Regions from separate parts of the Homo sapiens genome. Here region 2 is linked to region 1. The links are contacts of gene promoters, found by promoter capture Hi-C in blood cells and fetal thymus (Javierre and others, 2016). All regions are on one chromosome and are shown on one strand. Each heading gives the region's core, a stretch centred on a gene start or on the middle of the fragment in contact. The rest is flanking DNA. Distances are from core to core; before and after follow the strand shown.

Region 1 (5,900 bases), core at 2,526-5,025:
AAGAAAAGGGAATGTATTTGAAAAATACCTATAAAGTAAACAAACAATAGTTAATGACCTTTTGCCTGACCAGAAGGAGTAAGTATGAGAAAAAGGATGACTTCAGAGCTCCTAGCTTGGGTGACTTCTTCTTGTCTCCTTGTTTAATATCTATAATTCACATCCATAGCATTAAGTCAGGCAAAGATACATTAGGCAAAGTGATCAATTACATGTATCTGCAACACCGTTTCCCATGTAACTTCTCAGAACCACATTTGCTGCATCAACGCAAATTTATATATGAAGCCTCATCCTGTGTCCCCCTACTACCCTCATTATTCTTCAAAATTTTCCTTAAACAAGGAGGAATTAAAAAGGGACAAACAACATTCAGGGAAATGAGCCACCTCATGTTTGAATAGCACACTAATAAAATGAAGAAAAGTTGAAGATAGGAAATATGGCTGTCAGGTAAATCCTAAAGAATAGTAAGGGCAAGGATCTCCTAATCTCCACTAATTTATAAAGTTTAAGGGAAAATATTTGAAGTAGGTCATCCCTTGCTCTGTCCAGCCATCCTATCAATAGGCTAGGATATGTACTCTTGAAAAGACATTTTATAACCCTAAAATACCATTATAATAATTATTTTTGCATAAATAATAGAAATTTATATTTACCTCAAGCATAACTTTAAACATGCTTTTCTTGTTTCTTGGCAGTGAAAACACTGGTTGACCAAGTAAATTCACCCCTGAAGTACCTCATTAATCACGGTGCACTTGTTCTTGGCAAGAACCTTAATATGCTACAAATACTGTTATTAAAATAAGATTTGGGGATTCCCAAGCTGGCAGGGAATTAGTTAGTTACACCTCTCTCGAAATTATTTTATTGGGGTCTAGTTAAACTTACAGCATAAAGCAACTTCGATAAATGAATGTAATGTGTAAAGTCTGGCTATTCTAAAGCTCATTTAAAATCACAAGCAGCAACTGCCAAAGATGGCCTCTTTCCTCAGGGTCTGCTTAGTTGTGCACAATCCTCCCAAAAGATGATACTATCCATTCCCTCTTTGTGCTAATGTGGATATAGCACCCCTATCTAATTGCTGAGGCATTGCAGTTTCAGACTCTAAAATGTATAATCAAAACTTCACATTTGCTACATCTATTAAGTACACAATTTATTTCCTGTCTACTACTAAAGATACTGCTAGACTGATAAAGCCTGGTAGACAGAGAAGTATCCAACCTTGAACCTTTGGAAAAATCATTTATTAATGTTTTAAAATTCTGTAAGCCCATACAAACCTGTTAACACCAACACATGGAAAAGAAAATGTTGTGTTGCAAGTTCTCATTCATGTTCAAGAACAAGTTAGGAGATGCAAAGTATGTGCACCAACCAAGGCTTTCTTTAACTCTCTCTGAATATACAATGCATAATATAAAAAAAAGAAAGGCTAGAAATGTTTTGAGCATACTGTTGTAAAGAAAAAATCATAACCTATACAGTATATATATTTGCTACCAAATTGAGCATTATAATTGCTAAATTATTTTAGTATATTCTGACAGGTCAAAATAATTTACCAGGCTTATTAAGTAATATGTTTAATTACATATCAGGTCAGAGGAGATTAACGAGAAAAGTGTCAGTTGCATTTCTCTATCATTATCCTAACCACATTTAAATAAATGTGAATTTTACATAAAAGTTATACTTTTTGATGTAATGATGATGCAACACAACCGTTCTCCTTGTGTGCATTGTAAAACGGAAAGTTGGCTGGAATATTCTGCCTAATGCTACATGTTCACGTCAATCTGGGACTGTAAAATTTTCCAGACACCAGAGCCCCACAGATTGTAGACTCCACCAATTTCCTGACTCCTATGTGGTTGAATTCCAGGTTCACCTAGTTACAAAACCAGCCCTTCTTCCATGTTATTTCAAAACACGTTTCTGGTGTTGATGCTAATTCTGCATCCCAGGAGAGAGCTATGTATGGATGACATAACTTATTTCTAAAAGAAACCTAGTCCGTGTGCTCAAAACTTATTTTACTAGGAAACAAGGAATGTATCAGCGAGTATCTGCAACTTTCTCTACTGGTCTTCTAAGGTTGATGTCTTTATATTTCATCTTAACAAAAAAGAAGCAGAAATAATAATACTAAAAAAAGAGGAAGCAAAAGGAGAAGAGGAAGAAAAAAAGAATTAGACACGAGGTAACATTATAAAAACAACCTTAAAATGCCCAGATAAACGTAACTCTAATAGGAGACTGAATGAATGGACTTTGTGGGAAAAACAGTAGTAAACTTTAAAGCCACTGAAAGGTTTTAAATGCCTAAGGGAAAAATAAACATTTGCTTCCAATCATTTTCTCATTAAGCATTCTCTGCTAGATGGAGAAGGCTTACTACACACACACACACACACACACACACACACACACACTCTTTGACTCCGCGCCACAAACGGGGACTTAACCCACTGCCCGATCTCTGTCAGAGGCGACCCATTTGCGCTTCTGCTATCGCACCTCCGCCCGCGTTCCTGCGCCCCAGGTTCCCCGCTGCCTCCCCGCCCCCTGCAGCGCGGGAGCGTTGCTTCGCCTGGCCTGCTGGCCTCCTCTAGACCTTGGCCACCTTCTCCGTGGCAGGAAGGGCTACATGCACTGACAGATTTTCCGTTGGTGGTGGCTGGGTGGTGGCGAGGCGTGTTTCCGGGCGCGCTTAAAACCTAGCAGCTCTCTCCAAGTAGCAGCTTCCCCTACTCCGCCCCTAGGACTGAGGACCTAGCCCTCGATGCCCCCTCACTTCTCCCCGTCCTACCCCGCCATCACCTCCTAACCTCTCCAGTATACTCTCAAGCCTCACACGGGCGCCTGTCCTCCCTTTGCATTCCCTAGCTCCCGGGCGCCCCGTTCGGTTGAAGTTTACGTATCTTGGGACCTAATTGCTCCCAATTATCCGCGCAGCCTAAGTCCCGCGTCTGCCTGGCTCTCGCCCCGGGAGCCTGAAGCTACCGGGCAGTTCATTGGGTGTCCTCGGGGAAAAGGTTCAAGCTGTAGAGATGAGAGAAGTGGGGCTGGGGGAGGGGAGAGGCTCCAGAAGGAAGACCACGAACACGTGCGAAGAAATAAAAGCCACCACGTGTGCACGCGCGCGGGGGCCCAAGGGCGCGAGCGCGGAGCACGCCCCAGGGGGCCAGGGACAGTGGTCCCCTGCAGCGGGCATAGCAGGGGGCGCGGGTACTCACACGAAAGCGTGGTAGATGAACGCCCAGCCGCGGGGTCTCTCCAGCACGTTGTACAGGTAGTTCTGCACCCGCCGGTACTTGACGTTGCGCCGGCAGCTCTGGCTACTCGTGTAAGAGAGCGGCTTCCCCAGCAGGCTCATCCGGGCCCCCTGCTTGCCCCGGCGGCTCTCCCTCAGGCCACCGCCGCCGCCACCGAGCGTGGCCGCGCGGGTGCCCAGCAGTAGCAGGCCGTCGCCCCTGGCGGCTGCCGAGTTCAGCAGCACCCTGCCCCGGCCGGACTCCACATCCTTCATGCCGCTGCCCAAGCGCCCCCCGCCCGCCGCCGCCGCCGCTGCGCCGCTCTTCACCCAGAGCCCGGCGGCGCCGCCCTCCTCTCCTCCCGCGTGGTGGCGGGGCATGGCATCACCACGGGCACCGCGAGGGGGCCGCCAGCGCCTGCGGCGGGGGCAGCGGCCTCATGTGCGCCGGCGGGTTTCAAGGAGGAAGCCGGCGGCCGACGGGGCGCCCGCCAGCCAGAGACCTCTGAGCCGGGGGCGGGGAAGCAGGCAGCCAGCAAACCGCCCGGGCTTCGGGGCGGGAAAGGAGGGGCTGCAGAGGAGGCCGAGGAGTCCCAATTTCTAACAGCCTTTAGCTTCGAATTCTAAATCCGGACCTGTTTGGGGCGTCACTTTGAGAGGGTTTCTCTTGCTCCCTCATTCCCGCGACTACCACTCCCTCCTTCCCAAACTGCCCCCGGGGATAGAGTGGGGGAGTGCGGGGCGCTCCGAGGCGCGCTCCCACGCGCGCACACCCAGCCCCAGGCTTCCCCTTCCCTCTCTCCACTCCCCACGCCCTGCAGCGAAACGGCCCCAGAAGCCCCTCTCCGAGGCGCGAGTTCGGTTTGGTTCTGGCAGGGGCTTTGCAGCTGTCCGGAAGGTGAAGTCAGCCTTGTGTCCTGAGGAGAAACTGGAGATGCAGGTCGCTGTGCCCTCCCGCTGCTACGTCGCTGCGCCGGATCCTGCCATCCTTCCGCAAGGGGTGAGAGCGGGAACAGCCCTGCCCTGCCTTCCAGGTATTATCTAGCCTGGAGGCTGGAGCGCAAGGTAACGCTCCGGGAAGTGGCACTCGGGTCCCCGCACACGGGCGAGTCCTCAGCAGTTCAGTGGACAGACCCGCAGGACGCGGCTGCCAAGTCCGCGAGGCAAGGACCAGGCATCTTCCCGCGCCTCACTCCAGCCTGCGGACTGTGACTTTCCATCCCAGTATCAGACAAGCTCGCGAGTAACTGAACATCCTTTCCAGTCCATGGGTGGGGTGTGGAAAGGGCGTAAAACTCCAAAGTGGCTCCTCCGCGGTGAGCGAGCTGCCCCGGGGCTCTGCCTGACTGCAGCGCGAAGCCTGGGAGAACAAACCCAGTTCCCTCCGTCAAGAAATTTCCATTTAAGTCCGAGAAAGTCATATGATTGAGAAGTTCAGCAGCGGCGGCGAGGACCCAGTGTCTGGGAAAGAACACCTGGAGGATGGGGTGTCCAGGACGCCGGCTTTTCGGGGTTCCGACCCCACCCACCTTATGTTGTAACATACAAGCTTAGAGACCTGTTGCAAGGAACAACTGACTGGGTCTTCCACCACCCCTGGCACCCGGGTGGCCCAAAGCCTATGCGCCCTTGGCGGAGAGAGAGGCCACGGTGCCACTGGCCGCAGCCTCTGGCCTTCAGAAACAGTGTATTACAAAGAAAAGGCAGTTTAAATCTCACATTCAGCATAGGGAAAACTGAAGGGTGCCAGGCTCGGGGACTTCTTCCAACAGAGTGGCTCTTCCCCAAATATGAAAGAAAATCATCAAATTAAATTGAAGGCAAAACTAAGCTTCCACCACAAAGACATAGCAGATAGTTGCAAGGTGGATTCCTTCGGGCCTTTTCCTTTCCTAAGGCTAAAACAATGCTAAGACAAAAGTCTTCTTGCAGCTGTCTCCGCCCCTCCGAGATAAATACTTTCCCAATTCTCCCCCACCCTGTACACACACCCACGCCCGCGGCAGCTGATTTCTGTCTTCTGCAATAGCTCGATTTAAATGCTTTGCTTTTACTCTTTATTATCACTATTATTTGTGTGAAGCCCTCTCGCCTGCTCCTGGTCACCAGCAGGAGCCTGCTTCCCTCCCTCCTTCCCCCCAAGCCTCTGGGCAGCAGAAGCTAGCTGGGAGCTCTGTGCAGCTGGCGGCGACGCCATGTGACTGTGAGCCGAGCACCATCACCCAGAGTCACTCTCTAGCTTTCCCCTAATACACTTCACACCCACGCACTGTGGAGGTGCGAGAGAGGTTGCTCCGTGCGGTGCTATTCGAGGCAGATGCAGAGAGCGCCCTGGAGTAAGCTCTCCAATCCTAGAGCTGCGCGGGACCCTGACTGAAGGCGGAGGGGGCGGGAGGGGGTGCTGTTGCTATATTTAGACTCCCTATGGAGTTTCTGTGCAGGGACTTTCAGGGTGAAAGATCTAGAGACTTAAAATGACTCGTGTGCCCGCTTTAAACGTCAAAATCTTGGCCTTTCTGCAAGCAGTAAAATGAAAACCACTTCCTCTTAACTTAGCTGTTTTCCTTGTTGCAGACTGCTACTTTCGCTGGGTAGGTAAAGTCACTTCCATCTCTCTGGCGCGGCTGGGCCC
Region 2 (5,900 bases), core at 890-3,389, 200 kb before region 1:
AAATCAAGAAGGCAATCTCATTTACAATAGCTACAAAAAAGTAAAATACCTAGCAATAAATTTAACCAAGAAGGTGAAAGTCCTCTATAAGGAACCCTACAAAACACTAATGAAAGGAATTGAAGAGGATACAAACAAATGGAAAGATCCTATGGTCATGGATTAGAAGAATTAATATTGTTGAAATGACAATTCTACCCAATGCAATCTACAGATTCAATGCAATTCCTATCAAAATACCAATGACATTATTCACAGAAATAGAAAAAAACACTTACAATTTGAATAGAGCCACAAAGGACTCTGAGTAGCCAAAGCAATCCTGAGCAAAAAGAACAAAGATGGTGGTACCACACTACCAGTCCTCAATATATACTACAAACCTGCAGGAACTACAACAGCATAGTACTAACATAAAAACAGACACACAGAAGAATGGAACAGAATAAAGAACCCAACAATTAATTCACATATCTACAGCCAACTGATTTTTAATAAAGGTTCCTAGAACACTCATTTGAGAAAGGACAGTCTTGTCAATAAATGCTGCTGGGAAAACTGGATATCCGTATGCAGAAGAATAAAACTAGACTTCCACCTCTTACCCTATATAAAAATCCACTCAAAATGGATCAAAGACCTAAATGTAGGACCTGAAATGATAAAATTACTAGGAGAAAACATATGAGAAACAGTTCAGGACATTGGACTGGGAAAATATTTTATGATCAAGACCTCGAAAGCACAGGAAACAAAAGCAAAAATAAACAACTGGGATTATATAAAACTAAAAAGCTTCTGCACAGCAAAGGAAACATCAACAGAGCAAAAAGACAACTTATAGAATGGAAGAAAATATTTGTAAGCTACTCATTCAATAGGGGATTAATATCTAGAATATACAAGGAACTCAAACATATCAACAGCAAAAACCCAAATAATATGAGTAAAAAATGGTCAAATTATCTGAACAGACATTTATAAAAGGAAGATATACAAATGGCCAACAAATGTATTTAAAAATGCTTGACATCACTAATCATCAGGAAAATGCAAATCAAAACCACAATGTGGTATCTTCTTACCCCAGTTAGGATGGCTATTATAAAAAAGACAAAAAATAACAAATGGTGGTGAGGGTGTGGAGAAAAGGGAACTGTATATTATACCTCTTGTTGGGAACATAAACTAGTACAGCCACTCTAGAGAACAGTATGGAGGTTTCTCATAAAACCACAAATAGAATGACTATATAATCCAGCAATGCCACTACTGGGAACTTATCCAAAGGAAAGAAAGTCATTGTATCAAAAAGACTTCTGCACCCCCATGTTTATTGCCACACTATTCACAATAGCCAAGATACAGCATCAACTGAGGTGTACCACAACAGATGAATGGATCAAGAAAATGTGGCATACATACACAATGGAATACTATTCAGCCATAAAAAGAATGAATTCCTATCATTCATAGCAACATAGATGGAACTGGAGGACATTACGTTATGTGAAATAAGCCAGGAACATAAAGTTAAACACCACATGTTCTCACCCATGTGCAGAAGCTAAAAAAAGTTGATCTCTTGGAAGTATAAAGTAGAACAGAGGAAACTGGAGGCTTGGGAGGGTAGGGGGAAGGGAGGGATAGGGAGAGATTTGTCAAAGGATATAAAAATTATGGCTAAATAGGAGGAATCAGTTATAATGTTTTATACCACTGTGGAAGGACTACAGTTAACAATAATGTATTATATTGTTTCAAATAGCTAGAAGAAATATACTGAATGTTTCTAACACAAGGAAATGATAAATATTAGAGATGATAGATATGCAAATTACCCTGTTCTGATCATTATACATTATATGGATTGAAACATCACTATCTATCACATGAAAATGTATAATTATTATTTGTCAAACAAACATTTTTTTAAAACCCAAGAACAATTAAAAAAAAGAAGATTATAGCAGGAACCTATAGGAGACATTAAACATAAGCATGAATATATTTAAGCAGGTAGCCATACAAGGGAGCTGAAATAAAAGACATTTTTCAATTAGAAATAGTACATATTTCTTCTATTCATTATTTCTTATGATTTTCCTGTAGCTTTTGATGTGAAAGACTGATAGAAAGACACTGACTTTCACTATTTCTAATCCACAAAAAATGACTGTTGTTTCTAAATTTAACTCATTATAATTATCTCTTTTCTCTCCATGGCATTAACAAGGCCTATCATGGGATCTAATGACTAATCTTGCAGGAAGGGTAACTGGTGACTAAAGTATTCCTCATGTCATATATGTGTATATGTATCTTTTGATGGTTAGAGTCGAATGAATTGGTATCTTTACCTTGCAAGTGTGTAGTTTTGCTTTTATACCCTGAATTGCTTTGTGCAAATTACAGTCTCCAGAGCTGAAGCTCCTTGCTGTGGATGAAGGGAAATGGTGGAAAAAGGGCCCCAGAATCAGAATGGCTTTTCCACCAGAGAAGTGTGATTGCTTGCAGGCACAACGCTTAAGGTTGACCCCCATGGAGGCAACTGTGATTGAACAACTGGGTTGGCCTTCTAGATCCCAAATATCCTTCCTATATTTAATCTGATTAAAGTTTTCTCTCTTCATTTAAACATAAAACATTCCATGACACTGATTTACTTCAATATATAAATGACTGGTTTCATTCATTCATCATTCATTCATTTGACAAATACAGTGCCTCCCATGTGCTAGTGTGGGTAGACAAACAGGACTGACTAACAACTATTGCTAGGTGGCTAAAGAATGGGCTGAGAGACTTCCCTTCCCCAGGCAAGTGAGCCTGCTCCCAAGCTCAGCTTCTCCAAGGCCCTCCAAGTTCCACATGTTGCATAGTATAGGTCCCACCTAAAGCCAAACTGTTATTCTAAGTCATGCTCTCTTCCTCTTGCAAATAAGACTTCTCACTGTCACCAAGGAAAAGGAGAGAACCTTCCCTGTGGACCACCAGCTAACTGTTCCTGTTCCCAGTTCCAGTCTGCACTCAGTGACTCATTCTGGCATTTTCTTATGCCTTCTACCAGTGGCACTGTTCTTGTTGCTGGGGAGATATGTATAAAACAAACAAAAATACTTACTTTCAAGGATCTTACATTCTGGTGGGGAAGCCAGACAACAAGTACAGTAAGTAAATAAATGAAATACAGTGCAGCACAACCCAAAGTAGTAAGTGCTGTGGAAAAAATAGAAATCAGGGAAGGGGAACAGAAAGTGTTGGGGATGGTGAGTGGATGTTGCTCTCTTTGCAAAGTAGATTTTTAGGGGTGAAGGGGGAAAAGACAGCCCAGTCTCCCAGCCTAAATGTTCGTTTTTTTGTTGTTGTTGTTGTTTTGTTTTGTTTTTTTCTCCCTAGCCTTCTTCTAGAGCAAAAGTCATCTGGCAGTTTCAGGACAGATGACATCATTACCCAGAGGTCCTCAAAGACAGTGAAGCTTGAAGAGATTTCTTCATGTGTCAAAATGGGAAGATTACTGTCTCTCCTGCCCACTTCTCTGGGTTGTTGTAAAGATCAAAGGAGAGAAGGGCTATAAAGGTGCTTTGAAAACAATGAAAGCTACACACTGAAAAGGCATTATTATCACAGAATTGTGTTAGAAATAAGTGGGATGACTATTTACGTATCCAAATTTTATAATCTATAGTATAAAGATGAGAGAGAGAGACACACACACACACACACACAGAGACAGAGAAAGAAAGAGAGAGAGACTAAATGTAGGTTTTGGCTTGGAATCATATATATCAAGCTGTTAGTTGGCTATATCCAGGTGATATGACACCTTTCTTCCCTATCAAATCTCCATTGCTGGCCAGCACAGCTTCACTCTTCTGAGGTTATTTTTCTCCTTATCATTAGGCTGCAAAGTACATGACCAATCCTAGGATGAAAATATTGATTTTACCATAATAAGTACATGTGCAAATTGAAAGGCAGGTTAATTTTGCAGGCTCTTAAATTACTCAGGCAATAGAAAATATCAATAAATGCCAAGTGAAAAACAGAAAAACTGATGAGAAAACTGATGAGCATCAGTTCTTAAAAGAACACATAATGAATGTTAAAATTATCAGATATTTTGATACAAGAAATAAAACCAACGATTTTCTAATTTAGGTATCATTTTTCCTCTCTTTTTTTAAAATAATTTTTTTCTTCATTATTTCACAGACCCCACCACCGCTGGAATTTACTACAGATCAAGAACTGGTAAAACTGAAGACCATTTATATTGCTCAATTGCTTCTAAAATAATAGGTATGGCACTTGTGATTAATTTATGATTCATAATCTTCAAATATTAGTAATTATTTAAAAAGGGAAACTAATTTTCTTAAACAATATGGAAGACAAACCTCTAATGTTTAATTTTATTCTTACTGGAATCTAGTAGTCCTGGATGAAAACAAGAAATATAGGAGAAAACATATAAAATGGTACTTATTAATATTAATAGAAACAGTTTGGAAACATTAAAATGAATCTAACAAAAACACATTAAAATATTTTACATATGTGTTTACTATGAAAGAAGGGTAATCTTACACAAATGTAGTGGATGAAGTAGATCAGACTAATAGATTTGAGGTTGGCTAGACTTCACCATATGAAATGTATTTGAATGTGTTGTCTGCACAATTCACACTATCCATATATATTTGGTTTACAAGCATAATTCGGAATTTTTTTTCACTCCAATGTTCTTTATTTCTGAGCTCCTGAGGTAGCATTTAGCTTGGACCATAAGTGCAACTTCGGGGGTGTCACAGAAGTAGGATGTGCAGGGAAGTGTGAAGCATCTGAAAGACTCAGAAAGGCCTGGGTCAGGAACCCGAGTGAGCCCCAGAGCCTGCCAACAACTTGCAGGTCTCCCTTCTGCAGCTGCTATTGGCTTATAGGCTTTTATAGGGAAAAGTGTTTATGTTCAAATACTAACGCTGAAAAAACACATAGGCATAGTAAGAAATGGTGTCACTGGGTAGAATTTTTTTCAGAAATGTGACATATTCTTACATGTGAAAATTCTAAGAGTTTCCTACAAATACTTGTATTTTTGTATTGGATGGAGTCTGGCAGTTTTAGGTCTCATCCATTTTTAATGATACATATAATCAGTGTAAAGAAGTCAGCAAACCACAATTTGGTATCTAGCCACCAAGATGTATTAAGACTATGTGGTAAATATTCTTTCATGAAAATTCCAAGTAACTGCTTGTTGTGATCTTAAAAAACAACTTTCTTGTCTTAATAAAAATATTAACATGTTTATTTTCAATGCAATATGTGAAAAGTATTACACGTAGTTTCAAATTTACAATTAAGTGGGGGTTGGGGAGGTCTCCCAAATAGAATCACATTCTAATCCCTGGAACCTATAAATATGTTGCCTTATATGGCAAAGGGACTTTGGAGAAGTGATTAAGACCCTTGGGGAGGGTTGATTATCCTATATGATCAAGGTGGGCCCAATGTGATCACAATGATCCTCGTAAAAAGGAAGCAGGAGGGTCCAAGTCAGAGGAGACAATGGAAGCAGGGATCTAAGTGACATGGGGTCATGAGTCAAGGAATACAGGTGGTTTGTGGAATGTGGAAAAAGAGGAAATGCATTCTCTCCTATAGCTTCCAGGAGGAATACAGCTCTGCATTCACCTTGATTTTATTCCCTATGACCTATTTTGGATTTCTGGCCTCCAGAACTATAAGATAATACATTTGTGTTGTTTTAAGCCACTAAGTTTGTAGTAATTTGTTTTAGCAGTAGTAGGAAAACTAAAAGAGCTTATAGATTGATTTGCTGTCCTATTCTCCATAAATGCTAGACCCTCAATAATAATGGACAGAAGATAAAACTT

Evidence for each region. The method cuts DNA at HindIII sites, captures the fragments that hold promoters and counts their contacts. A CHiCAGO score of 5 or more calls a contact.
Region 2: a contact is called between a fragment that was not itself captured here and the fragment with the promoter of KCNQ5 in region 1, in 1 of 17 cell types (M2 macrophages). The highest score is 5.8, in M2 macrophages.

The regions. Positions count from the first base shown.
Region 1 is chr6:72,619,939-72,625,838 of GRCh38, reverse strand. KCNQ5 (potassium voltage-gated channel subfamily Q member 5) reads right to left here and starts at 3,775. Exons shown (of 14, transcript NM_019842.4): 1 at 3,252-3,775. The coding sequence starts at 3,649. It overlaps KCNQ5-DT (KCNQ5 divergent transcript), which reads left to right and starts at 3,160. Exons shown (of 3, transcript NR_186827.1): 1 at 3,160-3,307. RefSeq lists silencers at 2,441-2,490, 3,521-3,780 and enhancers at 2,139-3,090, 5,201-5,390. The HindIII fragment of the contact is 6,363 bases long and covers 1-4,819 here.
Region 2 is chr6:72,822,615-72,828,514 of GRCh38, reverse strand. All of the region lies in intron 1 of KCNQ5 (potassium voltage-gated channel subfamily Q member 5), which reads right to left. Among named protein-coding and RNA genes, the nearest start is that of MIR4282, 140 kb to the left of the region's middle. RefSeq lists an enhancer at 3,019-3,068. The HindIII fragment of the contact is 2,683 bases long and covers 798-3,480 here.